6 separate regions of the Homo sapiens genome follow, and regions 1, 2, 3, 4 and 6 are each linked to region 5. Evidence: promoter capture Hi-C in 16 types of primary human blood cells and fetal thymus (Javierre and others, 2016). All regions are on one chromosome and are shown on one strand. Each heading gives the region's core, a stretch centred on a gene start or on the middle of the fragment in contact. The rest is flanking DNA. Distances are from core to core; before and after follow the strand shown. Region 1 overlaps SLC26A2 (solute carrier family 26 member 2). Region 2 overlaps DCTN4 (dynactin subunit 4). Region 3 has its middle 5.8 kb from the start of RPS14. Region 4 overlaps RBM22 (RNA binding motif protein 22). Region 5 holds the start of G3BP1 (G3BP stress granule assembly factor 1). Region 6 overlaps HMGXB3 (HMG-box containing 3).

What was found. The method cuts DNA at HindIII sites, captures the fragments that hold promoters and counts their contacts. A CHiCAGO score of 5 or more calls a contact.
Region 1: a contact is called between a fragment that was not itself captured here and the fragment with the promoter of G3BP1 in region 5, in 1 of 17 cell types (neutrophils). The highest score is 6.8, in neutrophils.
Region 2: a contact is called between a fragment that was not itself captured here and the fragment with the promoter of G3BP1 in region 5, in 1 of 17 cell types (fetal thymus). The highest score is 7.9, in fetal thymus.
Region 3: a fragment that was not itself captured here is called in contact with the fragment with the promoter of G3BP1 in region 5 in 1 of 17 cell types (fetal thymus); the score reaches 8.4 in fetal thymus.
Region 4: a fragment that was not itself captured here is called in contact with the fragment with the promoter of G3BP1 in region 5 in 1 of 17 cell types (fetal thymus); the score reaches 10.6 in fetal thymus.
Region 6: a contact is called between a fragment that was not itself captured here and the fragment with the promoter of G3BP1 in region 5, in 1 of 17 cell types (fetal thymus). The highest score is 5.1, in fetal thymus.

Annotation. Positions count from the first base shown.
Region 1 is chr5:149,961,977-149,966,690 of GRCh38, reverse strand. The region is part of intron 1 of SLC26A2 (solute carrier family 26 member 2); the gene reads right to left. Among named protein-coding and RNA genes, the nearest start is that of SLC26A2, 3.6 kb to the right of the region's middle. The HindIII fragment of the contact is 1,313 bases long and covers 2,633-3,945 here.
Region 2 is chr5:150,749,917-150,754,691 of GRCh38, reverse strand. It overlaps DCTN4 (dynactin subunit 4), which reads left to right. Exons shown (of 13, transcript NM_016221.4): 3 at 1,035-1,213. Among named protein-coding and RNA genes, the nearest start is that of DCTN4, 6.7 kb to the left of the region's middle. The HindIII fragment of the contact is 2,431 bases long and covers 2,054-4,484 here.
Region 3 is chr5:150,453,174-150,457,935 of GRCh38, reverse strand. No RefSeq gene overlaps it. Among named protein-coding and RNA genes, the nearest start is that of RPS14, 5.8 kb to the right of the region's middle. RefSeq lists a silencer at 3,594-3,794. The HindIII fragment of the contact is 6,015 bases long and covers 1-4,663 here.
Region 4 is chr5:150,695,243-150,699,414 of GRCh38, reverse strand. It overlaps RBM22 (RNA binding motif protein 22), which reads left to right. Exons shown (of 11, transcript NM_018047.3): 3 at 144-173; 4 at 784-916; 5 at 2,524-2,624; 6 at 2,710-2,882; 7 at 3,709-3,909. Among named protein-coding and RNA genes, the nearest start is that of RBM22, 3.7 kb to the left of the region's middle. The HindIII fragment of the contact is 3,324 bases long and covers 478-3,801 here.
Region 5 is chr5:151,770,294-151,775,009 of GRCh38, reverse strand. G3BP1 (G3BP stress granule assembly factor 1) reads right to left here and starts at 3,056. Exons shown (of 12, transcript NM_005754.3): 1 at 2,974-3,056. LOC100652758 (a long non-coding RNA gene) reads left to right here and starts at 2,834. Exons shown (of 2, transcript NR_132345.1): 1 at 2,834-3,307; 2 at 4,238-4,716. RefSeq lists silencers at 2,430-2,499, 2,550-2,879 and enhancers at 3,088-3,382, 3,640-3,869, 4,248-4,716. The HindIII fragment of the contact is 14,997 bases long and covers 1,151-4,716 here.
Region 6 is chr5:150,002,171-150,006,879 of GRCh38, reverse strand. It overlaps HMGXB3 (HMG-box containing 3), which reads right to left. Exons shown (of 20, transcript NM_014983.3): 2 at 1,891-2,029; 3 at 233-407. The coding sequence starts at 2,027. Among named protein-coding and RNA genes, the nearest start is that of HMGXB3, 3.8 kb to the right of the region's middle. The HindIII fragment of the contact is 3,599 bases long and covers 1,016-4,614 here.

The DNA of each region.
Region 1 (4,714 bases), core at 2,040-4,539, 1.8 Mb after region 5:
CAAAAGAAATGCTCACTGGAGCAATTTGGATTTCCAGATTAGAGATGCTCAACTAGTAAGTATAAAACAAATATTAAAAAAAAAAATTCAGAAATTGGAAACACTGCCAGTCCCAAGCATTTCAGGTAAGGGATACTCAACCTGTACTGGGATTTTCCTAAGAAATCTAGGCCATTTAAAACTGAGCTTCACAACCTGTTGTAAATATGGTGTGATATGCATGTTTGTGTATGTGTGTTTAAGTAACTGCTTTTAACACATAACACAATCTAAAACCATAGGCAGTGAGGGTCAGTAGAAAAAGTAACCTGTTGTCAGGAGCCCTGGACTCCAGGCAAGTCATAACCCTCTGTCCCAACCATGAGACAGTTCAAACTAAATGATCAAATCATTAAGTGGTAGTTTTCCTGAATTACAGGACTTTAGAGCTAGACAGAGATCAAGAAATCCAACCGCCATGATTTTTTGGTAAGAAATAAGAGTTCAGCTGGGTACCAGTGGTTTACAACTATAATCTCAGCACTTCGGAAGGCCGAGGCATGCGGATCACTTGAGCTCAGGAGTCCAAGACCAGCCTGGCCCACATGGTGAAATTCTATCTCTACTAAAAATCCAAAAATTAGCCAGGCGTGGTAGCACATGCCTATAATCCCTGCTACTTGGGAGGCTGAGGCACAAGAATCACTTGAACCCAGGAGACAGAGGTTGCAGTGAGTTGAGATTGCGCCACTGCACTCTAGCCTAGGTGACAGACAAGACTCTGTCTCAAAAAATAAAATAAAATAAATAAATAAAGGTTCAGATTAGTGAAATCATTTGCTACTTAAAGGCAGAGATGGATCCAGAACCCAAGTATCCTGACTCCTAACCTTTTTCCTCTAATAGATTGCCTATGCCAGTCTCTGTAAGTGTATATACATCAGATAATTACAGGAAAACTAGAGTCGACCTAAAAACAACCTAAAGATCTCAAGTTTGTGGAAAACCTGAAGTCTTAACATTAACCCAGCATTAATGTGAACAAGTCAACAACCAAAGTAAGTCTCCTCTCTTATATGGAAAAATCTCAGACTAGACTGGTAAGAGCTACAGTGTAAGAAAAAAAAATAATTAAAAATATATTTTTAATAAAAATAAACTAGACTAGAATATGTAGTTTAGAAATAATTTTCCAATACTTCACACAGCTTTTTTTTTTTTTTTTTTTTTTTGAGACAGAGTCTTGCTCTGTTGCCCAGGCTGAAATGCAGTGGTGTGATCTCGGCTCACTGCAACCTCCATCTCCCAGGTTCAAGCGATTCTCCTGCCTCAGCCACCTGAGTAGCTGGGACTACAGGCGCCTGCCACCATGCCCGGCTAATTTTTGTATTTTTAGTAGAGACAGGGTTTCACCATGTTGGCCAGGATGGTCTCATCTCCAGACCTTGTGATCCGCCTGCCTCGGCCTCCCAAAGTGCTGGGATTACAGGCGTGAGCCACCGCGCCCAGCCACACACAGCTTGTAAGTAGGGGAATCATGACTTGAACAAGCCTGCCTGATTCAAACGTATACTGTCGCTTGATTGCTTATTTTGAAGCTGTTTTTAAATCTTCAGAAAAGTTGAAAGAATGATACATGGAACACTTCCATACTAACAATTCACCTATTTAGCAATTTTACAGTTCATAAGATGTTAACACACTCTCTCTCCATACTTATATGGGTTTTGTCATTATTGTTTTTCAACTATTTGAAAGTTGCAGGCATAGTTCAGCCTTAAACACTTTATTGAACCTACATTTAAAAAAAATTTTTATTTTGAAATAACTGTGGACTTGCAGAAAAGCTGTAAAAATAGTACACAGTTCCTGTATAATGGTCACTCAGTTTCCTCTAATATTGAACCTACATTTTTTTTTTAATTTTTTATTTTTGAGACAGAGTCTCACTCTGTTGCCCAGGCTGGAGTGCAGTGGCACAATCTTGGCTCACTGCAAGCTCCTCCTCCTGGGTTCATGCCATTCTCCTGCCTAAGCCTCCCAAGTAGCTGGGACTACAGGTGCCCGCCACCACACCTGGCTAATTTTTTGTATTTTTAGTAGAGACAGAGTTTCACCGTGTTAGCCAGGATGGTCTCGAGCTCCTGACCTCGTGATCCGCCCGCCTCGGCCTCCTAAAGTGCTAGGATTACAGGCGTGAGCCACCACGCCTGGCTATTTTTTATTTTTATTTTTGAGATGGGGTCTCACTCTGTTACCCAGGCTGGAGTGCAGTGGCATGATCTCAGCTCACTGCAACCTCCACCTCCTGGGCTCAAGCGATCCTGAGTAGCTGGGATCACAAGTGCACGCCACCATGCCCAGCTATTTTTTTGTATTTTTTGTAGAGACAGGTTTTCGCCGTGTTGTCCAGGCTGGTCTTGAACTCCTGAGCTCAAGTGATCTGCCTGCCACGGCCTCCCAAATTGCTGGGATTATAGGCATGAGCAAAGGAAGAGCCCAGCCTGAACCTACATTTTTAAAGCACTATGCCTCTTCTTCAAAAGAAGCATTCATTAGCAAGATGAGGTCAACCATTTGGATATGCTCCCCAAAAATCTGCACTGGCTCCCTATCTCCTACCAAATATGGTCTAAAAACATTGGTATAAGCTTCTATGCATGAGCCTAAAACTGCCACTGTCTTGCTTCCTCCTATGCACTAGTGTTCCAATCACCAGTCCATGAAAATATCAAGCAGCCTTTGCCCTTGGGGCCTTTGCTCATTGCCCAACCTCAAATGACACCTTATATAAATCGGTCCCTTCCTAGATACAATATATAAAACAGAGGCCAGGCACAGTGGTTCATGTCTGTAATCCCAGCGCTTTGAGAGGCCAAGGCAGGAAGATCACTTTGAGGCCAGGAGTTCGAGACCAGCCTGGGTAACATAGCAAGATCTTGTCTCCACAAAAAAAAAAAAAAAAAAAAAAAAGTTAAACAAATATGCAAAATAGCAGGCCGGGTGCAGGGGCTCATGCCTGTAATCCTAGCACTTTGGGGGGCCAAGGCAGGTGGATCACCTGAGGCCAGGAGTTCGAGACCAGCCTGGCCAACATGGTGAAACCCCCTCTCTACTAAAAAATACAAAAAATTAGGCCAGGCGCGGTGGCTCACGCTTGTAATCCCAGTACTTTGGGAGGCGGAGGCAGGCGGATCACGAGGTCATGAAATTGAGACCATCCTGGCCAACATGGTGAAACCCCGTCTCTACTAAAAATAAAAAGATTAGCCGGACGTGGTGGCACATGCCTGTGGTCCCAGCTACTCAGGAGGCTGAGGCAGGAGAATCACCTGAACCTGGGAGGCAGAGGTTGCAGTGAGCCAAGATCACGCCACTGCACTCCGGCCTGGAGACAAAGTGAGACTCTGTCTCAAAAAAAGAAAAAAAAAAAAATTAGCCAGGCGTGGTGGCATGTGCCTGTAATCCCAGCTACTTGGGAGGCTGACAAAGGAGAATCACTTGAACCCAGGAGGCAGAGATTGCAGTGAGCCAAGATGGCGCCACCGCACTCCAGCCTGGGCAACAAGAGTGAAACTCCATCTCAAAAAATAAATAAATAAATAAATAAATAAATAAATAAATAAATATAGCACCACTGCCATTGCTGCCATTTCCATGTCTTCCTCCTGGGCCCAGCCCTGCCTTGCACTCCTATGCCCTTTATTTTTCTCCATAGCTCTTCTCACCATTCCATACCACACATTGTTAATTGTCTTTCACATGAGGGCACTGACTTGCTCTGTTTTGTTCAAAGCTGTATTCTCAGTGTCTTGAACATGTCTTGCACCTAATAAATGCTTAGCAAGTATCTGTTGAGTGAATTAGAATTTAACAGCTATATGATAAGGAAAAAGGAGTTACTTTCCCCATTCTCACTTAACTCTCCAACCCCACTCTTCCGCCCCCACATGCCAAAACCAAGCTTATGTCAAGAAATTAAGCTTGGCAAGCATCTGCCTGGGGGTTTACATTCACTAAAAGCGTGATTATCCTTCTGTCAATCATGGGGGAAAATAAAAAATAAAAGTGTGGGCAGGGCACAGTGGCTCATGCCTGTAATCCCAGCACTTTGGAAGGCCAAGGCAGGAGGATTGCTTGAGCTCAGGAGTTTGAAACCTGACTGGGCAACATGGTGAAACACCATCTCTACAAAAACTACAAAAACTAGCCAGGTATGGCAGCGTGCACCTGTGGTTCCAGCTACTCAGGAAGCTGAGGTGGAAGGTTTGCTTGAACCCACGAGGTCAATGCTGCAGTGAGCCTAGATCGCGCCCCTGCACTCCTAGCCCGGATGACAGAGTAAGACCTGGTCTCAAAAAAAAAAAAAGTCAAATCAGAAATTAAAAAAAAGTGATTTTTTTCCCTCAAAAATTACCCCTAGCCCAGAGTATGTTCACCTCTAGATCTTCCCCTAGGAGGCAGCACATTACAGTACAATAATTGTCAAATACAGAGAGCCGTTAGCTTCTTAGGACCATCCCTGCAAATCCAAGGATGAGATCCAGGACTCCACACGCTAGATGATGCTGAACGAGTGAGCTTAGGACCACACTTGGAGAATCACTGGATGTGTTCTGGAAGTCAAACAGATCTCTGTTCAGATCCCAGCTATACTGCTCAGCAGTCATATGGCAATGGTTTTGTAAAACTTCACTGTACTCAGCATCAATTTCTGACCTGTAAAATGGGGTAA
Region 2 (4,775 bases), core at 2,020-4,519, 1.0 Mb after region 5:
CCAGCCTCATCTTGTATATTTTCTGTCTCAGTCTTAGAGTTGTTTCTCCAAGGAGCCTTGGTTCACTTTATTGGAGAATAGTCTTAGAAACCAAGATATGGCTGCTAGGCTTGCTCATTGCTACTGGATGGTGTTTAGTTTTTAGCTTGAAGTGAAAGTCCTTTTGCTGTTAGTCATACCCCCATACCTTTATGGATGTGAACCACTATTATTTGTCTTTCCTGCCCTGAGAAGTAACCCCTGATAACCAGATACTGTTTTGTATACTTTCCACAAATTAATTTTTATCATTTAATCCTCAAAGCTTCCTTGTAAGGTGAGTACTATTATTATCTTCTTTTGATAGTATCCAGATGGCAGACTATAACAGATAATGCAAGTTATATTATAGAACAGAACTTCAAGCAGGTACAGGACTGCAGGTGAAATCTTGATAATCTGTGCTGGTGGGAGAGTTAAAAGCAAGAAGACATAGGGACCTCCTAAAGGAGAAATGTTGGCTGAGCACTAGGAAAAGTAGCATTTAAGGAGAGAACAGAAAGCCCTGAAAATATGCTGCTTCTGAACCATTCCAGTTTGATAGCATTGTTTGCTTTCTGTTGAAGCTCTCTGGCACAGCAGTCGGTTATTTTCCAAATCCAGTTTCACAGCTTCTTGTATTGTTGACTCTAAGTTTTCTATGGCACAGTTGGTCTGTCCTCTCTAAAGGCATAAGCTGTGACAGTTCTCTTCCTCAGAAATCTTTGTGATCAATATAAGCATAAAAAGAGTCTGGAATCATAAACTCCATCTGTTAACAATGGTTCTCTCTGTGGAGTAGGATTGGGTTGGGCTCTAATTCTTACTTTGGCGATAACTGCATATTTTTTAAACTAATGAACATATAGTACTCTTGAACTGTTAAAGCAAAGTTGGTAAGAGGCCTGCAGAATGTTACTGTTTTTTCTTGAGAGACACTTGTCCTTATATTTGTTCTCTCTTGAATTCCTTGATAAATATTTGTTGAATGAATGGTTGTGTTTGTCATGTCACAGATGTGCCAATTGTTTTGACTGTCCTGGCTGCATGCACACCCTCTCTACTCGGGCCACGAGCATCTCCACACAGCTTCCAGATGACCCAGCCAAGACCACCATGAAGAAAGCCTATTACCTGGCATGTGGATTTTGTCGCTGGACGTCTAGAGATGTGGGCATGGCAGACAAATCTGTAGGTGAGTGAGATGGACTTCAATATGAAATTTTGTACAATTGACAGTGCTATAATTGCCCATAGATTATTATTTCTGTAACCCGTTGGGGCGATAGGAGCTAAATTCAGAATATTTTGTCATTAACTCTTCTGTGTTCCCATATGTTCACATTTGTAGACCTTAGTGTTTTATCTGAGATGGGATAATATTTAGTTTTCTTAGACTTGATAAAATAGCTTTTATAAATCTGGTACTTTCTTGGAATCAAAATATTAATGCTCTTCATGAAAAATAAACATTCATGTTAAGACATCATGGATAAAACTAAAAGATAAGGCCGGGCACGGTGGCTCACGCCTGTAATCCCAGCACTTTGGGAGGTTGAGGCGGGCAGATCACAAGGTCAGGAGATCGAGACCATCCTGGCTAACACAGTGAAACCCCGTCTCTACTAAAAAATACAAAAATTAGCTGGGCGTGGTGGGGGCACCTGTAGTCCCAGCTACTCGGGAGGCTGAGGCAGGAGAATGGCGTGAACCTGGGAGGCAGAGCTTGCGGTGAGCCGAGATCGGGCCTCTGCACTCCAGCCTGGGTGACAGAGCAAGACTCTGTCTCAAAAAAAAAAAAAATCTTTAAAGATAAAAATGACAAACTAAGAAAAATAGTTGGGTCTTATATAACAGGCTAAAGATGAATACTCAGAAATGAGGAACGCTTATAAGTCAATAAGAAAAAGACTTAGTAGAAAAACAGGCAAAGGATATGAGCAGCAATTCTCATAGTAGAAATAAAAATGGTCAATGAATATGCAAAAAGATGTATTCGACTTCCCTAGTAGTCATGTAAATGCAAATTAAAGCTTCCTTCTATTTGGTACAACATGTTTAATCTGGTTGTATCAAGTGTTGGCTAGAACATAGGAGAATAGTTCTCTCATACACTATGGTAGTCTATCTTGGAGACCAATTTTAAAACATTTATTAAAATTTTAAATTGCTTATATCCTTCTGCCCAGTAATTCAATGTCCAAATGTCTGTCCTGGAGCATTCAAACATGTGCTCAAAAACTTTTACGTATATATATAAAATGTTTATCAGTGAAAGAGAAAAATTGGTATGTTTGGATTTAAGACCACCTAAGGCATTATATACCTCCATCATTTGAGTGTTTGAGTGTTTTAGAACAGATTACACTTAATTTTATCACGAAACTTTATTTTTGCAAATTCTGTATTTCATGGTTAACATCATAGAGTGGAAACATTCTCTGTACAGTCAGTTCAAAATCTTGAGTTGCTTTTGATTTAAGTGATCCAAAGTTTAAAAAAAATTAATAAAATCTTGAGTTGCTATTTATGCTTTATATAAGTAGTAGCATCACTAACTCCGTATTTTTTTTTCTGAGGTTTCATTGTTTAATTTTCTAAAAACATTTTAAACTTGTAAAAATTCTCATTTTGGGATTTTCATAAAAAGTACAGCTTATTGACTAATAAATGAGGAAGCTCATAACAAATTCATTATATGTCATTTGACATAACTAAAATGAAGCAGACTGGCTAAAACCTTTCTATAGATTCTTACACAATTTGGAAGTAAATATGGGTGAAGTTCTTTAGATTCAACTATGTTCTTAAAAATTTAATCCTTGATTCTATTGAATTTGCTCTTTGGTTTAGAATGCTTTGAGCTGTTGATGGTTTTTCTGACTTTGTACATTGAGTTGATAAAATACATACTCTTTTCAAAAACAGAAAGTTAAATAAGTATATCTTAGTTCCTTAAAAATGCTCATTGGTGGGTAGCTATTTACCTGAAGTGTGACTGAAAATAGAAAGATTCTGTAACATCTTTGAAAATTGCCAGTAAGTATTTATGTGTATATGTTTTAGTGTCAGTATAGGAGATAAGTTAAAGAAAGTAAGTTAAATGTTAAAAAGCAACCTCAAAGTGGCATAATGTAGGCCTCAGTGAACTAAAGTATTGTTTTTTCATGTTTGTATTTTGTGTCTTTTTATCAAGTAAAAGAAACAGCCCGGAAATCCAAGTAGATTTCTCAGTTTGTTACTCTGTTAGTGAGTGTTTTATGCTTTTTGGTTTATGAGTCATGAAGATTGGAGAATTTATATTTCAGAACTATAAACTTATGCTGGCTTCTAGAACTGTATCTCCTCTAGGGTATCTCAACAGGGATAATTGAATACCAGGAGCTCTTAAAGCGTACAGATAATTTCATTTCCTCCTTGATGTCATTGGTATCTCAGAAGCCCTGAAACCACTTAAGTTAGAACTATTTGTTTATTTATAAGTACTTGTCTGTAATGTACGGAGAAAAACTTACAATGAGATTATTATGTCTCCCAAATTGCTACTTAGAATAAATTACCAGTTCAAAAGAAGCAATTAGATAAAATATTCAGACGTTTAAAAATATTACAGCTGAAACATTTCTTTCACATAATTATTTTTCATGATTGCCTTAAGTGAGGCAACTTCTAAAATAATATTATACTAAAGTGTTATTTCTGCCATTTCTTGCAAGAGGATACAATGTCACCTTCAGCAAGGTAATTGCGTCCTTTTTGTTTTGAAAAAAGTGATTTTATATGAAATATGTATATTCATGTACTTATCACCCAGTTTAAGAAATGAAACAGCCAAAACAGTTTAAGCCCTCCCCCTACTTTATCTTCCTCTCTGCCCGCTAGAGATAATAATCACAATCCTGAATTCAGTGTTTATTAGCATCCATACATGTCTTTATACTTCTCCACATATGTATGCAGCCACAAACAAATAACATTTTTCACTTTTAAGCAAATGAAAACATACTGTATATATCCTGCTACAACTTTACTCTATCAGCATTATGTTTCTGATACACAGTTGATTCCTGTATGACTCACCACAGTTTACTTATTCCGTCTTCTCTTAATGAACATTTAGGTTGTTTTCATTTTCTTTGCTTTTGAAAAAATATAGCTGCTGGAAGCAATCTTGTATGTGTTTCCTAAGGCACAAGTGTAAGGACTTTTCTATATAACTAGAAGTAAAATTGCCAGTCATAAGTTGTGTACATCCTTAGCACTCCAAAATGATTTAGCAGTCTTTGCTCCTAGTAGTAATATGTAAGAGTAAACTACCTGTAGCTCCAGTTCCTTGTCAGCTCTTAGTACTTTTGGACTCTAAAATTTTTCCAGACTGATGGTTGTGAAATGGTATCTCATTATACTTTTATTTTTCCCTTTATTTGGCTAGCTTTACCAATATATAATTTATATATAATAAAGCTTACCAATTTTAAGTGTAGAATTCTGTGATGTTTGACAAGTGTGTAATCACATAGCCACCACCATAATCATGATACACAACATTTCTGTCCCCCTAGAGAATCCTCATGCCCCATTGCAGTCAGTTTCTTCCCCCAACCTCCCGGCCCCTGACTAGACTGATATGCTTTCTATCACTAGAATTTTGCCTTTTCTAGAAGTGTATGTAATTGGAGTCTTACATTACAGTCTTTCCTGTCTGTCTTCTTTTATTTAGCATAATGCTATTGAGGTTCATCTGTGTTTCTTCTTTA
Region 3 (4,762 bases), core at 407-2,906, 1.3 Mb after region 5:
CCTTGTGTGCCACACTTACACACGCAGACTAGCGCTCATGTGTGTTCTGGGGCTCAGACCAGCAATAGACCCATGACTCCACGACAGCTTCACAGCAGCCAACACTTTTGAGAAGGTCCTCCCTCCAAGTCCCAGGACCACCTGGGCCACAGTTGGTGTCTGATTCCTGGCTGTGTGTCCTGGTGAGCAAACTCACCCTCTCTGAGCCACAGCTTCTTCCCACCCTTCCTCTGTTGCATTTGCAAACTACCCTTCAAGGGGAGGAGGGGATAGAGCTCCTGGACAAATGACAGTATGAGCTGCTGCCGAGAATGGGGAGCACGGGGCCTTCCAGGTTGAGCTTGAGGACCCAGGAAAGGGCTTGGCTTCTGCTGCTGCAGGCTAATTCCTTGCTCTTCCTTCATCCAATCAACAGATATTTACAAAACACCTGTACCTGAGGTTACACGAATTGGGCTCTGGAGTCAGACTGCTTGGGCCCAGATCCTGGTGCCCCACTTAGAGCTGTTGACCTTTTCCTTGTGTCCTCAGTTATAACGGGGGGGATTAAACATTTTCTACCTCCTGTGGTTGTTGAGAGGAAGCTGCTTGCTTTCCACTTCCGGAATGAGAACTTTCTCCAGCTCCTGCTGCCACATTTGCCCCCACCGTCTTCCTTCCTCATTAGCACCTGAGGTGAGCTGTCCACATTCCTGCCTAAAGCCGATGCCTCCACATGCGCAGCAGAGGCCTTTACCTATTGCCTGCTCAATGTCAGGGCTCCAGCATGTTTTTCCTTCACTTCTAGACTATTCCCAGCAGTGTTAAAATATCTGTTATTGATGCAACCTTAAAAAAGGAAAAAAAAGAACCTCTTGATCTCACATTCCCATTCTCCATCTGCCCCCTGGCACACCTCTGCAGAAAAACTCAAGAGCTGTCTATGAAGGAACTGGGCATGGTGGCTCACACCTGTAATCCCAGCATTTTGGAAGGCCGAGGTGGGAGGACCACTTGAGCCCAGGAGGTCAAGACCAACCTGGGCAACTTAGGGAGACTCAGTATTTAAAGAAAAATGAGGGCCAGGCACGGTGGCTCATGCCTGTAATCCTAGCACTTTGGGAGGCCGAGGCGGGCGAATCACTTGAGGTCAGGAATTCGAGACCAGCCTGGCCAACATGGTGAAACCTCATCTCTACTAAAAATACAAAAATTAGCCAGGTGTGTGGTGCAAACCTCTAATCCCAGCTATACGGAGGCTGAGGCATGAAAATCGCTTGAACCTGGGAGGCAGAGGTTGCACTCAAGCCTGGGCAACAGAGTGAGACTCTGTCTCAAAAATAACAAAATTTTAAAAATTAAAAAAATAATAATAATTGGGCCAGGCATGCTGGCTCACACCTGTAATCCCAGCACTTTGGGAGGCCAAGGTGGGCAGATCATGAGGTCAAGAAATTGAGACCATCCTGGCCAACATGGTGAAACCCCTTCTCTACTAAAAATACAAAAATTAGCTGGGTGTGGTGGCGTGTGCCTGTAATCCCAGCTACTCAGGAGGCTGAGGCACGGGAATTACTTGAACCCAGGAGGTGGAGATTGCAGTGAGCTGAGATCACACCACTGCACTCCAGCCTGGTAACAGAGAGGGACTCTATCTTAAAATAAATAAATAAATAAATAAATAAATAAATAAATATTGGAAAGAGCTGTCCAAGAGGTGTGGACCTCCCTCTCTTACTCCATTCACACTTTTGCACTCCCCCCACCCAGCCCCCCAATCAAGCTGCTGTTGTCAAAGTCCCCAGTATTTCATGTTGCTACATCCAACGGTCATCCTTAGCCCTTGTTATCCTTGACCTCTAAGCGCGATGGCACAGGTGCACACTCCCTTCTGCTTGATTGCATTTCTCCAGTTGCCTTCTGGATGTGCCCTCTCCTGGTCTCCTTTCATTTCTGTTCATGGCTTATTTTCTTGGCTCTCTCCTTCTCTTATCCCCATGCTCTCAACGCTCAGTCCTTAGCCTCTTCTTTATCTACACTCAGCCCCTTGGCGGGACTCGTGATTAAAATCAGTCTTGTGATTTTAAATACCATCTGTATGCTGGAGACTCCCAAATTTACACCTCCAGCCCTGATCCACTTCTCAATTCCAGATTCATCTATCTCAGCTGTCATTCTGACAGCTCCACTCGGGTATGTAATAAACAGCTCAAACTCAGGCCTACGAGTGGGCATCTGATCTTCCCCTAAAAACCTCCTCCACCCTCTGCCTTCCCTACCCCAGCTGAGGGCAACTCCATCCTTCTGGTTCCTCCAGCCATAAATGCTAGAATCATCTTTGACAACACTCTTTTCCCATGCCCCATGTCTAGTTTAATCTATCAGTAAATCCTGTTGGATCCATTTTCTCATTTTCTTTTCTTTTTCTTTTTTTTTTTTTTTTTTTTTGAGACAGAGTCTCACTCTGTCACCCAGGCTGGAGTGCAGTGGTACGATTTCAATCTCTGCCTCCTGGGTTCCAGCGATTCTCATGCCTCAGCCTCCCGAGTAGCTGGGAGTATGGGTGCGCGCTACCATGCCCAGATAATTTTTGTATTTTTTGTAGAGATGGGGTTTTGCCATGTTAGCTAGGCTGATCTCGAACTCCTGACCTCAATTGATCCACCCACCTTGGCCTCCCAAAGTGCTGGGATTATAGGCGTGAGCCACTGCACTCGGCCACCATTTTCACTTGATCTTAGCCAAAAGGCCGAGAAGCTATCGGACCCCATTTTCAAAATAAAACCAAATATTAGCGACTTCTTTCTACCTCTACTGATGCCTCCTCCGTCTTAGCTACCAATGTCTTTCACTTGCTTTATTGCAAAAGCCTCCTAACCGTCATCCCTGCTTCTACTTTTGCCCCTCACCCCACCCCACAGAGCACCCAGAGTGCACCTATTAAAACAGAAGTCAGTTCTGTCACCCTCTGCTTAAAACCTTCCAGTGGCTCCACTCAGTAAAAGCCAATGAACTCTAAGGCCTACATGGTCTACACAATCTCTCTCCACCCCCAGTGACCTCTCGTCACATCTCCTCACCTGCCTGCCCTGGCTCACCCCATACCAGCCACCCTGGCCTCCTTGCTGTTGCTAGAACATGCCAGTCATACTCCCGCCTCTAGGCTTTGCACATACTGCTCCCTCTGCCCATAACCATCTTCCCTTAGATACCTGCAAGGCTGGCTCCCTCTCCCACCTTGTGGGGAAAAGAGAGATCAGACCATTACTGTGTCTGTGTAGAAAGAAGTAGACATAAGAGACTCCATTTTGTTCTGTACTAAGAAAAATTTTTCTGCCTTGAGATGCTATTAATCTGTAACCCTACCCCCAACCCTGTGCTCGCAGAAACATGTGCTGTGTCGACTCAAGGTTTAATGGATTTAGGGCTATGCAGGATGTGCTTTGTTAAACAAATGCTTGAAGGCAGCATGCTTCTTGAAAGTCATCATCAATCCCTAATCTCAAGTACCCAGGGACACAAAACACTGCGGAAGGCTGCAGGGACCTCTGCCTAGGAAAGCCAGATATTGTCCAAGTTCTCCCCATGTGATAGTCTGAAATATGGCCTTGTGGGAAGGGAAAGACCTGACCGTCCCCCAGCCTGATACCCGTAAAGGGTCTGTGCTGAGGAGGATTAGTAAAAGAGGAAGGCCTCTTTGCAGTTGAGGTAAGAGGAAGGCATCTGTTTCCTGCTCGTCCCTGGGCAATGGAATGTCTCGTTGTAAAACGCAATTGTATATTTCATCTACTGAGATAGGAGAAAACCGCCTTAGGGCTGGAGGTGAGACATGCTGGCGGCAATACTGCTCTTTAATGCACCGAGATGTTTATGTATGTGCACATCAAAGCACAGCACCTTTTTCTTAACCTTGTTTATGACACAGAGACATTTGTTCACACGTTTTCCTGCTGACCCTCTCCCCACTATTACCCTATTGTCCTGCCACATCCCTCTCTCCAAGATGGTAGAGATAATGATCAATAAATACTGAAGGAACTCAGAGACCGGTGTCATCGTGGGCCCTCCATATGCTGAGCGCCAGTCCCCTGGCACTCTTTCTCTATACTTTGTCTCTGTGTCTCTTTCTTTTCTCAGTCTCTCATCCCACCTGACGAGAAACACCCACAGGTGTGGAGGGGCAGGCCACCCCTTCACCACCTCACAGCTCTGCTCAAATCACTCCTCAGCAAGGCTGCCTGGCCCTCTCTGTTTAATTCAGCCACCCACCCCACCCCTTTCCTCAGACCTTCAGTACCCTTCGCCCAGCCTGACTTTTTCTTTCTTCTTCTTCTTCTTTTTTTTTCTTTGAGATGGAGTTTCACTCTTGTCGCCCAGGCTGGAGTGCAACAGCGCGGTCTCAGCTCACTGCAACCTCTGCCTCCCAGGTTCAAGCTATTCTCGTGCTTCAGCCTCCCAAGTAGCTGGGATTACAGGCACCTGCCACCACCCCCAGCTAATTTTTGTATGTTTAGTAGCGACGGGGTTTCACCATGTTGGCCAGGTTGGTCTCAAACTCCTGACCTCAGGTGATCTGCCCACCTGAGCCATGCAAGGTGCTGGGATTACAGGTGTGAGCCACCACACCTGGCCAACTTTTTCTTCTTTCCACAGGACTGACCACTTTCTAACAAAATAGGAAGCTTACATAGACATTATGTCTGCTCTTCCTTCCAGAATGTAGACTTTGAGAGGGTAGGGACCATTGTTTTTGTCACTGATGTATCCCAAGTATTTACAATGT
Region 4 (4,172 bases), core at 890-3,389, 1.1 Mb after region 5:
GGGTTTTGTTGTTGCTGTTTTTCTCTCTCTAGGATGCCAGGGATTTCCAGACACATTTCTTGGGTTATGTTTAAGGAAAGAGTAGACATCTGGCTTTTTTCTTTCTGTAACTCCAGTTCTTTTCTATTTTTTTTCTATTATAGACCAAAGAAAAGTATGGGAAGGAATGCAAAGTAAGTATGTCTGTTAAAGAGTAATGATTTCTGTTTCATTTTTCTTTTCTCTACCAAATTAGCCTTCAGCTTACTAAGTTTTGAGGTCTTCCAGTAAAAATCAGTGCTATACAACTTTTTATGTATTACTGATATATTCATTGGCTGGCAACTGTTTATGTGGGAGGTAAGAAAATGAACCCTCTAATGTAGAGATTCTTACGGTGTCAGTGGATGGGCACTGGAGGAGTTTGTACACCAGGTGGTGTATGACTGTCCACTCGAGCATTTTAGCTGAGGAGGAAGGTCATTCTTGTCAGAAGCTTCTCAAAAAATTACATGACACTCCCCACTCCCCCTAAAAAAGATTAAGGTTCAGATTATTATTGGTGCTTAGCTCTAGGATGGGAAGAACTTTGACCCTTTGGCTATTTCATTTCTGTACTCTGAATTTTTGCTGGAGAAGGATGCTGAAAATTGTATTGAAACATCAAATCAACTAGATGATTGCTAAGGTCTCTTCTAAATCCTACATTCAGGGATCCTTTTTTGAATGCCCCGTTGTTATCAGATCTCCAGATTGCCCAGATCAGGACCATTGACATTCTATGGCTCTTGCTTTGTGTTCCAGATCTGTGCCAGGCCATTCACAGTGTTTCGCTGGTGCCCTGGAGTCCGCATGCGTTTCAAGAAGACTGAAGTGTGCCAAACCTGCAGTAAATTGAAGAATGTCTGTCAGACCTGCCTCTTAGACCTAGAGTATGGTATGTTTGACCTGTCCAATAAATCTGAAAGTGTGCAGGTGCCTAAAACTACAAGTCAGTCTTTTGTCTCCCACTTCGCACCCTAGCTCTGGTTCTGATTTCACTTTGGAATGTCTGCCGTGGTCTGCTTTTCCCAGGAAAAGAACCATAATTAGGCCACTCTAGAGTCCTGAACAATAGTAGGAACTTAAGGAAAAGTTGGGAATTAATCAAAAGTGGCCTAAACCTTCATCTCTGTAGCCCAAGTGAGGTAAAAGGCGTTGATCCTATGATAGATAATTTATTTGCCTTAGGCTTCTTTCTTGATCCAGAGCTTTTTTCCACCATCCCAATCAGAAGCTCACAGGGTAATTGTGCTTTATTTTATTTTATTTTTTGAGTTAGGGTCTCACTCTGACACCCAGGCTAGAGTACAGTGGTGTGATCACAGCTCACTGCAACTTCGAACTCCTGGGCTCAAGGGATCCTCTTGCCTCTGCCTCCTGGTATACCACCACACCCAGTGCACGTGTGTGTGTGTGTCACTATTTTGCCCAGGCTGGTTTTGAGCTTCTGGCCTCAAGCAGTCCTCCCACCTTGGCCTCCCAGAGCCACTATAGCCAGCCTAATTGTGCTTTAGACTTTTATTTCAATTGTGTTGTTAGAACTGATATATTGCTACTGTTTCAGAGTAACTGCTTTTGGGAGTAATTTTTTTTTTAACCATAGGTGACTGTTTTTCAGAAAGATAATTTTTCAACAAGAGTTTTTACTATTAAAGGAAAGGGAAAAATATATGAGTTTATGTATGTTAAGTTCATTAGAGTTACTCTTCTAGTCAGAGTCCTGGCCACATTTTATGTAATATTATTTATATGTTTGTTAAGGAGGCGTCTGGTCCTGGAGTACAGTGACCCTTAGATGACTGTGACTATCCAGAGGATCTGTAAGACTAACCTAGAAAGAAACCACTTTTACATTTACTTTAAATAAATCATGTTGTAATAAAAACTAGGAGCTAATTTACAGGTTGAATATGACCATGGGCACAGTTTGTTCATCTAAAAATTTTCTTTTATAATTTTTTTGTTTTTTGTTTTTGAGACAGGGTGTCACTCTGTTGCCCAGGCTGGAGTGCAGTGGCATGGTCATGGCTCACTGCAGCCTTAACCTTTCCAAGCTCAGGTGATCCACCTCAGCCTCCTGGGTAGCTAGGACTACAGGTGCATACCACCACACCCAGCTAATTTTTGTATTTTTTGTAGAAATGGGGTTTCACCACGTTGACCAGGCTGGTCTCGAACTCCTGGACTCAAGCTATCTGTCAGCTCCAGCCTTGCAAAGTGCTAGGATTACAGGCATGAGCCACCACACCCAGCCTAAAAGATTTTTTCTAAAGCATTAATTTCATCAAATTTCCTGACAGTTCAGGAATTTGGACAATTTCTTAGCATGCTGTGTAGCAGAAGTAACCTGATGGTGCTAAAGAGTTTGAATAAAAACATAGTAAAGTCTCTGGTACTAAATAGGAAAGAGGAGAAGGGAAAGATGATGTATTCTGTGTGCATGGTTAGTATGGATATGTTTTAAAATACATCTGAGGTCTTTTTCCTCTTTTTTTGTACCAGGCCTGCCCATCCAGGTTCGTGACGCAGGATTGTCTTTTAAAGATGACATGCCAAAGTCAGATGTCAACAAAGAGTACTATACACAGAATATGGAGAGAGAGGTATGCTGCCACTTTTTGGATAAAAATCCTAATGAATTGACACAGTCTGTATAATTTATCTTTTGAATTTGTCATCCCCACTTAGATTTCTAACTCTGATGGAACACGGCCAGTTGGCATGCTGGGGAAAGCCACATCTACCAGTGACATGCTGCTCAAACTGGCCCGGACCACACCCTACTACAAAAGGAATCGACCCCACATTTGCTCCTTCTGGGTGAAAGGAGAGTGTAAGAGAGGAGAGGAATGTCCATACAGGCAAGAGCGAGCCTCATTTTCAGTATTTGCTTTCAGATGATTTCTCATCTAAGAAGTGGGAGGTCCTAACTTAAACTGTTTCTGCTTTAAAATCTAAAGGTCATACAACTAATGTGGTATACCTCATGTCTTAGAACTATGAAATTTAGAAGAGCATGAATAAATTGTAGTTTTTACTTACAATTGAGCCTTGGAAACTAAATTGCTATGCCATACAATATAGATGCTGACCCTAAACATTTCTGCCTGAGAAGTAAATCTTCACTGCCATGGTTTAAATGAGTTGACTCTCAATGTATAGTTGAAGTCAAAGTAAGGTCAGACTTCTAAAGGGTGTGTATGTTTTGGTTAAGACTGCCAAGCATCTGGATTAGGAGTTCTTAATTTGGGATTGGTTAACCCCACCCCCTAAAAAATAATGTATGTGCTTTCTCTGGGGCGAGGTTCATAGCTTTAATCAGATTCTCAGTGGAATACAGCACCCCAAATGTGTTAAGAATCATTGACCTAGAGAGGGGTAATCATGTGTCCCTTTCTGGGGGGCGGGAGGGGGTGGATCATGTCAAGAGTATTTATTTATAAGGAAAGTTTGGCATCCTAGATGGCCTAATGGCTTTTAGGAGGCTAGTAATTCCTTCCGTGATACAGTAAATCTCTTGGTATTAGGTCTATTTTGGTAATTATATTTTGGTAGAAACCATAGTTTCTAGTTCAAAAGGCACTTCAGAATATGTATCTAGGACTTTAATATGTAGCTACTCTTGGAAGATAATCATTTTTTCACCTTCGTTTCACCTTTATGCCTTGTTTTTTTCTTGAATCATAGACATGAGAAGCCTACAGATCCAGATGACCCCCTTGCTGATCAGAATATTAAAGACCGTTATTACGGAATCAATGATCCTGTAGCTGACAAGCTTCTAAAGCGGGCTTCAACAATGCCTCGGCTGGACCCACCAGAGGATAAAACTATCACCACACTATATGTTGGTGGTCTAGGTGATACCATTACTGAGACAGATTTAAGGTTTGTGGGTATAAGTTAGAGAGTTATTTTTGCCTTTAACTGCCCTGGAATAATTTATTTGCAAAAACTGCAAGAATGATCATTCTGTACAAAATACATTTTTCTGTAGTCTCTCTATTGTTAGTATCATGCTGACTGGAATTTTTGTAAAATTGTCCTTTATGGTGCCACAGTAATAATGTGCTTATGTGGCTGGGCACAGTGCCTCATGCCTGTAATCTCAACACTTTGGGAGGATCTCTTGAACCGAGGAGTTTGAGACC
Region 5 (4,716 bases), core at 1,807-4,306:
TAACCCTATCACCTGGCTTGCAACTTGACCTTCCCAACTAAAGACAGACAGGATGTCCAAGAATACTTTTTTAAAAAAAGTAAATAGCTGATTTCTGAGATATAAAATTATAAACCTAGTGTGCCACCACATTGTGATCACCAACTACATGTAAGATAATAGTTGCTGAATCTAAATTCAACTCCAGGGCTTGTACTGGAGTACTGGAAGGGCAGTACTGCACTACCAGAGATTTTTCCCACTTGCTTTTGACAAATTACTGGGGGGCGGGCGAGGCTTTCCTTTTTTTTTTTGACCTACCTACTTCCACAATTATCCATTCTTCTTTGTAAAGTCAGTAATAGTTTCGTCCAAGGAAGCCAAAGCACAATATAATTAAACAAACATACAATGCCTATTTAAATTCTGAAAGTTAAAAAAAAAATCAATTTGCAAAATGTTAAAAGACCAAGTGGGCAGTTTTATCAGACTGACAAAAATAAAGAAAAAAAATATAAAATTGGCTTTAGTCACAAATGTAAGCTTTATGTTAAATTTTATCTTTTAACACTAGCCCCATCAGTCCTAAGGACGATATAAAATTCACAAACTTTTACAAAAACTTAAAACTGCCTTCTGCCGTTCACTTTCTATGCAAAATACTAGAACGAGTGGGAAAAAAAAAAACCATAAGTTACAAAAGAAAAACTGCTCTAAGTAGGTCACAAACAAACATTACCAAAATCTCCTAATGTTCCCCTGGTGCAGTGTCAGCTCAGGAACAGCAAACTGAGTTAAACAAAGAACTGTCTACTTTTCTACCTGTAAGAGGTACAAAAGCTTAGACTTTTGTACCGGTAAGCAGCTCCAACAAAACTGACGTATGACTTGGTAGGGATGTAGGGCAGCCTTGCCAAGCCTTACATTACCACAATTTGCTTCAATTCACTTGTTCCTGATAAATGCACAAGTAATCAGTTAGAGCACCAGTTTGTGAAATAATCACGTAATTTTCATGTTCCTGCCCAAGTGATAACCATTTGCCTGAGGCCAAGAACTGTATTTTTTTAATATTTTAAGTAGAAACTAACGAAATTTTCCCTCAATAATGTGTAAGGTAATTTCATTCTATTTTGCCTCAAGCAGTAATAAAATTAGCTGGACTCAAGCTTAAACAGTTTAAATGTAGGTCATTCTAGTGTTTTTCCATTTGACAACTTAAATTGCTCAACTTTAAGTCTAAGTTAAAATGCTAATTCCATAGTTAACCAGTCTGTAAGGGCAAGTAACCGGAATCGCCACACCAGCAAAGTTCCAAGTAAATGTTACTTGGAACATTATTATAATACTGTTATAGAAACATGTTTATAGAAAGGGTTTCCAGAACACGATTATAGAAATCTTTATGTTTATAGAAGTGTTTCTATAACATAGAAGATTTATTTCACTAAGCCAAGGAGTATGTTGGCTTTTAAATAATCTAAAAGATGGTAACTACTAGAAAAATATAAGCTCCAGTCCCTGAAGAAAAGCATCTTGTTTCTGCATATACACAAGAACCCAGCAGAGTAAATGCTAAATAAACGGAGTGTACACAAACTTTCATCCACAGATCTCGACTGTCACAGTTGTTTTTTCCAACACATCTCCAACACCAGTAATTCATCCAGCATGACACGCTCCACAGAGGTCCAAATAGTATACTGTAACTGGGCGCCAACCTTTCTATTCCAATTCCGTATTTTAACCCACAGATGCTAGTGAGATCTTAAATTCGTCGCTTTGCACCTCATTCCCTTCAACTATAAAGTGAATCTTCTCAAGGTCTTTCTGCAAAAGTCTCCTCCAATTAAAAAAAAAGTAGAGAAAAAAAAATTCAACGTCTAAAACCGGAGCCTAACTTCCCGCTGGCGGGAATTTCCCATCAGCAATCTGAGATTCAAACCCGATGAGGAACACAGTCCATGTTCATTTGCACTTACTCATCGTTTTCCCTACTTTTTTCCAGAAGCTACGGTGGCGGCACATCTACCCAGGGCCTGTACAAGTACACGTAGAAAGGAAGCCCAAACCCTTTTCCTTTGTCACATTCCCACTTCCAACCCTTGTCTCCCTGGAAGCCCAGAACTAGCCCAAGTACAAATGCCGCTGCAGCCTTCTCGGCAGGTGGCCTTTTGAGGCTGATGCTGCCCCGAGGGACAAGTGCTCTGGGGGCAAAGACTAAAAACAGGCTTGGGAAGCGGGGAGCTCGGAGTCAGAGGGCCCGGCGTCAACAAATCCCCGCCCTTCCCGTGCGTGCCTGTGACCCCGCTCTCCAAACCCGTGCCTTGGGCCGCTAAGGAAGGAGGATAGCCGTACCCACCTCGCCAGCTCACTGCAAGAATCAAATGAAAGGCAGAAAAGTGGCTCCGCACAGTGCCGGACACACAGTGAGGGCGTGGAAAGAACATTGGTTGTTACTACCACTCCGTGCACTCGCTGCTCCCTCTTTGCTCTCTGCAAAACCGAAGGCGCTTCTGCGACGCGCGGACCGCAAGACTCCAATCAGACTTTAGTGCTGCCCCCACCCTAAACGAAAGCCTCCTTCTGGTCCGAACCGACTGGATCCCTTGGCCAGGGGAGGAAAAGGTGCCGCGGGCGCGTGGCGGAGAGGGTGGCGGGCGGGAAACGCTGGGCGCGGGACCCCTGGCCCCAGAGACCGCCCTGGGGCCCAGGCGGCGGCCGCGGCTTACTCCTGCCCCGCGAGGCCGTTGGACGCAGCACGCGCACGCGGCGGACACGGCCACGCGCCCCAGCCGGGACGGGAGCGGGAGCGAGGAGCCGCCGCGCGCCCGTCCGTCCGCCGCGCGCGCCTGCGGCCGTTGGGGTGGGGGTTGGGGTGGGGGACGCGACTGGCGCGGCCGCCGCGAGCGCCACTCAGACTTCTCCCTCTCACAAGTGCTGCGGCTCGGCTTAGTCCTCTGGCCTCCCTGCCCCGCCCACACCCCGGCGTACCTACGCGGCTGAGCTGGAGAGGAACTAGCTCTGCACCACAGCACCGAGGATAGTACAAACCCCTCACGCAACTGCGTCCGCACACACGCGTGCTCCGCCGCCGGTCTATATAACTGCCACTCACCCTAACTTGTTGCGGCCAGGTCGGGCGACGGGATGACCAATCCCGACCGCGTCCTCAGGGCTCTTCGAACAGTAATTGGGCACTGACTCGGGGATGAAGGCGTGGCTCTTGATTGGCTTTGACTCCTGCCTATGAGACTGTGAGGATCTCGTTTCCCTAGTAACAGATCGGCACTAAGAGAGACCAATAACCGAAAAGTACAATAGAAAGGCGAGTGAGCAGTTCTTTGACTGATACTCAAAGTAGCCAATAAATGTGTGGGGCTGCTCTTATTCGTTAACACGTCTTCCCCTGGGCGGAGATCCGTTTTCCATGCAGGAGCGGTTGCGCCACAAGGTGGGGCCCGTGTACTTTGGGGAAGTAAACCCCTAGCAACTAGGAGGCGGGCGTCCGAGAGGCCAAGACAGCCTGTGGCCAATCGCAACGCCGGAAGGAGCTGATAGACACGGAGGTTGCTCTGCTCGGAAGAGACCGAGCCCCAGGGCCGCCGTGCCCTCTGGGCGGTTGTGAGGCTGTGCAGCCTGCGGCTTCTGCCCTCTTTCTTTCCCTGACTGGTTGGGTCCGGCCTCCGAGGCCTGTACCCCGCCTTTTCCGCATAGGTTTGTACCTGGCGAACCAACTAGTAAAGTTTCCCGGGTTGTTTTCTTTTTATTACAACTTTTTTCTTACGTGCGGCGGCCAAGGGCCTTGCTGCTCTCACCATTACTCAGCACTGCTGCGGGGCAGAGGAAGGAGGGTCGTTCCTGCGCCGCCCGCAGGCTCCCGCCGGAAGGTCGCCGGTGGAAGGCCTGAGAGTGCGCCCTTCCGCCAGGCGCTTCTTGGCGGGCGCTGCGAGGCGGCCGCGGGCGTGTGGCGAGGCTCCCTTTGTGGCAGCTGAGGCACGGTGGTCCGCGCGTGCTCCAGTGGAGTGTGGGCCCTCGCACCACGTCCCGAGCTGCACCACTATTGTTCAGCCTCGAATTGCCGCGGGTGGGGGCTTATTCTCGTCGCTACGCCTTTAAAAGGCAACTCGTCCCCTCCTCCTGGCGTTTCAGGCACTGGCGGGGCTACAACTCAAGGCTGGCCGGCCCTATTTCTATGGAAATAGCTTTGGTTCCCAGCCGTCCGGCACAGACACGCCCCGGTTTGTTCTCGTTCCAGGCATGTGACCAGGGTCTCCCGCGGAGTTTTGCTGAGAATTTTGGAAATGAAGCATGTGGAGCGCCTATGTCGGGGGAGAGAGGCCGAGCTGAAGGAGCACGGGCGCCGGCCTCGGCCTCTGGGGAGCCGGGCCCGCTCGCCTCCCTGCGCGGGGCTAGCCCGAGCCTGGAACTCGGGAGGCCCAGGAGCGAAGTGAAAGCCCCTTCTGGTCCCCCAGGGCTCCACTCCCGCAGCAGCCCGGCTCCGTCGGCGTCAGTGGAGCCCCAGGCCTGGGTCCGAGATGAGCGAGACGCTGCTCTGGCTCGCGGTCGCCCGAGCGCTCCCAAAACCAGGGAACAGGCCCCAGGAGAGAAGCCCCTAGAAGTTTCCTGGAGCAGGGAGTCTCCTGTATCCTGTTAGCTCTGCAAAGGAATCTGGACTTTATTCTGAGGGCCTTGGAGAACCCCTGCAAAGTTTTTTAAAAGGTGGACTAAGAGATT
Region 6 (4,709 bases), core at 1,566-4,065, 1.8 Mb after region 5:
CTCACTGCAGAAAACACAAAAAAATGTCAGCTCCACGTATTGCTGCAACCGAAGAGGACAAGAGAGTGCAGGGCATTATCAAAATGGAAACAAGCAAGCCCAGAGTCAAGAAGGATAAAACGATGAAACTTTTCCCAAAAAAAGAAAAGGAAACAGAACAAGGGGCTTGGTTTTCCCAAGGCCTTCATCACTGAACCAGTGGAAAAAATAGCTGGAAAAAAAAATTACTTACAGGATCCAAACCTTCCTTCTCTAGTTTGGCTTTCTCCAAGTAGTAACTCCTCTCGGCCACGCTGAGAAGCCTCCAACTCTCACTAATCTTCTTATTGATCTCAGACTGAGGGAGGTGGGGGAGCTCCTGCTGCACTTTCAGGTAGATGTCGTAATAGTACAGAAGGTAAGCAGACCTGAGGAAGCAATGACTTCTTCAGGCTTTCCCAGTAATGGCAATGCTGGCAGAAATCCCTCCACTTCCCACTCCCCATCCCTCGACCCAGGACTTCATTCAACCAGTAAGTACTACTATGCTAAGATATGGGTAGTCAAGAGGTTGATAAAACCTAGCTTCTCATTTCTAAGCATTTATCTAAATAGGGACTGAAAGTCAAGCAAACAAACATTTAAATAACATCCTCAGATGGTGTTATAATAAGTTATAATCTTATTCCTGATTATAACTGATAGCTGTCAGTACAACACAAATTATATTACATTCAATTTGTAATATAAAAACTCATGGTATAGGAGAAATGCTTATATAAGCTACCATATTAAAGTTACTACATTAGAGCCACTATATTACAGTCAGGAGTAACTACCCAGGAAGATAAGGGGCTCCAAGGGAGGAGGGGAAAATGAATGGTAAAGATAGCAAGTGGCTGTTTCCCCTTCAGAAACCTGGAAGCAAAGGCTCATTTGACTGGCTTTCCTAAAGATCGCTTTTTGTGCAGGAATGATTTTAAAGCAAAGATAGATACAGGTGTCCTGTCCTGTCATTCCACTCTCAGGGAAAGCTTCCTCAAGGGGCTGGTTATCACTCACACTCCGTGCTCCTCTACGCAGCCTTTGGTCACCAACCTGGTCAATGGCACCTCCCCAAGGATGAGAGAGGGAAGCAAGCAGACCAATCAAAATGACCAATGCTGGTAGTTTCACAAGTTTGAGGTATTCACAGTCAAGAGTGAAGTTAGAGCTACAATTTGGATATTCTGTACAGATATAATTGGTATTATTTCTTTTTGTGTGTTTTTTTTCTTTTTCTTTTCTTTTTTTTTTTTTTTTGAGAGGAGTTTCGTTCTTGTTGGCCAAGCTGTAGTGCAATGGCACAATCTTGGCTCACCGCAACCTCCGCCTCCCAGATTCAAGTGATTCTCTTGCCTCAGCCTCCCAAGCAGCTGGGATTACAGGTGTGCGCCACCACGCCCGGCTAATTTTGTATTTTTAGTAGAGACGGGGTTTCTCCACGTTGGTCAGGCTGGTCTCGAACTCCTGACCTCAGGTGATCCACCCGTCTCAGCCTTCCAAACTGCTGGGATTACAGGCATGAGCCATCACGCCCAGCCTTATTTCTAATTTTGTAATTTTATTAATGCTTTGTTTTAAATGTTTAAATAACAACAATGGCATAATAATAAATAATGTAGCTCTTTTGTACCTAGCTTCTACCATCAGTATGGTACAATTTCCTGTGACAACTTGAAAACAAAAGCAAAGTCTGGCCAGTAATGGCAATGCTGGCAGAAATCCCTCCACTTCCCACTCCTCATCCCTCGACACAGGACTTCAATCATAACACTCTTTTTCAAAGAGTCTTAAAAGTTTTCCTCAATGCAGCTCTCCAAGCAACTTCTGTTTATAAATGCTAGCAGCAACCAAAATGTGTTGGCTAACCTGGGTTTCTTTGTCTTTTCTCCATGTATTTTATACTTTTTCTTCTTCTTGGGTGGCCCAGGAGAGGTGTAACAATAGGCTTCCTCAATTTCCTCCATCACGACAGTTACCTCAGTACCATCATATGATGCGTCCATGGCTAAAGGAAAGGAAAGTCAAAATAAAGTTTCCAGAATCTCCCCTAAGAGGGGCAGCAGCTTCCTGATCAAATAACCCCTTACCTCTGCCAGTGCCTTAAGGCTTAGACATTTCCCAAACCCAATATATCCTAAGAAGCACCTGGCTTGGTTGTTTAACACACAAGATTCCAGAGCTCCACTTCAGCCCTCCTGGAGCAGAATCTCCCGAGGGTATGGAAATCCACATGCTTAACAAATGCCTCAGGTGATTCCTCAGACCGGGCAAGTTTGTGACCACTGCCTTAGAAATACTTTTCACTTATATTCATGGGATACAGTACCCACCCACCCCTTTAACACAAAGATTTATTAGCCCCAAATTATAACAATTCTATATGGAAACAGGTTAAAAAAAAATGCTTGGCCAGGAATCAGAAGTTCTGGCCCATTCCTCCTATGTTTCATCAACTTAAGCAAATCCCTTCATTGATTCACTCAAACATGTAGTAAGGGCCTGTATGTAAAAGATTTCTTTATACTCTGCCAGCTTGTGCAATTTTGGTCAGGTCTTTTAGCTGCTTTTTGTTCAGCTTTCTCTCTCATGTATAAAAAAAGACATGTCTCAACTACCTTCCCACAGATTTATAGTGATAAGACTCAAAGGATACAATAGACACAACTCTATTTAAAAATAATTGGATGGGCGCAGTGACTCACGCCTATAATCTCAGCACTTTGGGAGGCTGAGATGGGAGGGTTGCTTGAGGCCAGGAGTTTGAGGCCAGCCAGCTTGGTCAACATAGTGAGACCCCATCTCTATTAAAAAAATAAAAATCTTTTTTAATTAAAAAAAAAAAAAGAAAATAGTCAAGTGCTATGCAAATGAAAAGGGTTTGTTTTTGGGTTTTTTGTTTTTGTTTTTTGAGACAGGGTCTCACTCTGTCACTAGAGAACAGTGGCACACTCTGGGCTCACTACAGTCTTGACCTCCTGGGCTCAGCAATCCTTCCACCTCAGCCTCCTGAGTAGCTGGGACTACAGGTGATGTCATCACGCCTGGCTAATTTTTTGGAGAGATAGGGTTTTGCCATGTTGGCCAGGCTGGTCTCAAAATCCTGGACTCGGGCGATCTGCCCACCTTGGCCTCTCAAACTGTTGGTATTACAGGCATGAGTGGGATTACACTGTGCCCTGCTGGGTTCATTCCTAAAGTCAGGTAATTGGCAGAAAAAAAAATGGAAGAGTTCATTAAGTTTTTTTTTTAATTTTATATAATTTAAAAAATAATAATAGAGATGAAATCTCGCTATGTTGTCCAGGCTGGTCTTGAACTCCTGGGCTCAAGCGATCCTCTTACCTCAGCCTCCCAAAGTGCTGTAATTACAAGCGTGAGCCACCACATCTAGCCTCTGTTAAAGACTATTATCTGTGTCTGAGATGCTTAACAACCTTCCCAAGGCCACCAAGCCCAAGCAGGGACTTGAGAGATAGATTTTTAACTCAAAAATCCAACTCCCTGGGCCTTCTTTCATTATGCTACACTGCTATCCATCTCTACTGGCAACCCTCCAAACCAGCACTGTTCAATAAACTCTGATGATGGAAATGTTCTACATCTGTGCTGTCAAATATAGTAGCCACCAGCCACATATGGCTATCGAGCACTTGAAATATGGCTAGTGTGACTGAAGAATTGAATTAGTTTTATTTTTAAATTTATTTATTTTTAAGACAAGGTCTCACTCTGTCCCCTGGGCTGCAGTGCAGTGATGAGATCCTGTCTCACTGCAGTCTCCACCTCCCAGGCTCAAGTGATCTTCCCACCTTGGCCTCCCAAGTAGCTGGGACTACACATGTGCACCACCAAGTCTGGCAAATTTTTAAATTGTTTGTAGAGATGAGATCTCATTATATTATCCAAGCTGGTCTCAAACTCCTAGGCTCAAGCAATCCTCCTGCCTTGGCCTCCCAAAGTGCTGGGATTACAGGCATGAGCCACCACCACACCTGGCCAATTGTAATTAACTGAAATAGCAACATATGCTAGGAGCTAGAGACAGCACAGATCTAAACAGTCATCTGACCAACCAACATCAGCTCTCTGGTGCTGGGCTAAAAAACAGAGAATCTACTAACAGCTTTTATGTCTAGGAAAAGAGGCATAAAAAACTTAATAACCAGTTCAAGAAGAGTTAGTTTTTTTTGTAGCCAAGTTCTAAATTGGACTTTTACCACAAGTCTCAATCCTTGGAGGGAGAAAGGCTCACAGAAACCACTTGAATTTTACAAGAGGAAATAACATAGTTGCCCCTGAAAATCTGTCAGGAGGAAATTTAGAATTCTGGGAAGAGGCAGTTGTGGTGGTAAATATGGGACTGATACGTGCAGTACAAAGCCCACACACCTCTCATTTAGACCTCACTCCACAAATAAGGTATAATGAGCACTGCATGTGGAGTCAAGAGACCTAAACTCTAACCTTATGATCTCAGAGAAGTCTATTCCACATCCTAAATTTCAACTGTTTCTACTGTGAGAAAAGGATGAACCCAGTGGCTCCTAGTCTTTTGGAGGCAAGAATTCTTTTGACAATGTTGCGAAAGCTTAAAAAAACAAACAACTACAACAACAAAAAACCTCTCCTAGAAATTGCAGACACACTGTATTTCACCTATAATTTTCAGGATATACCCCAGGTAA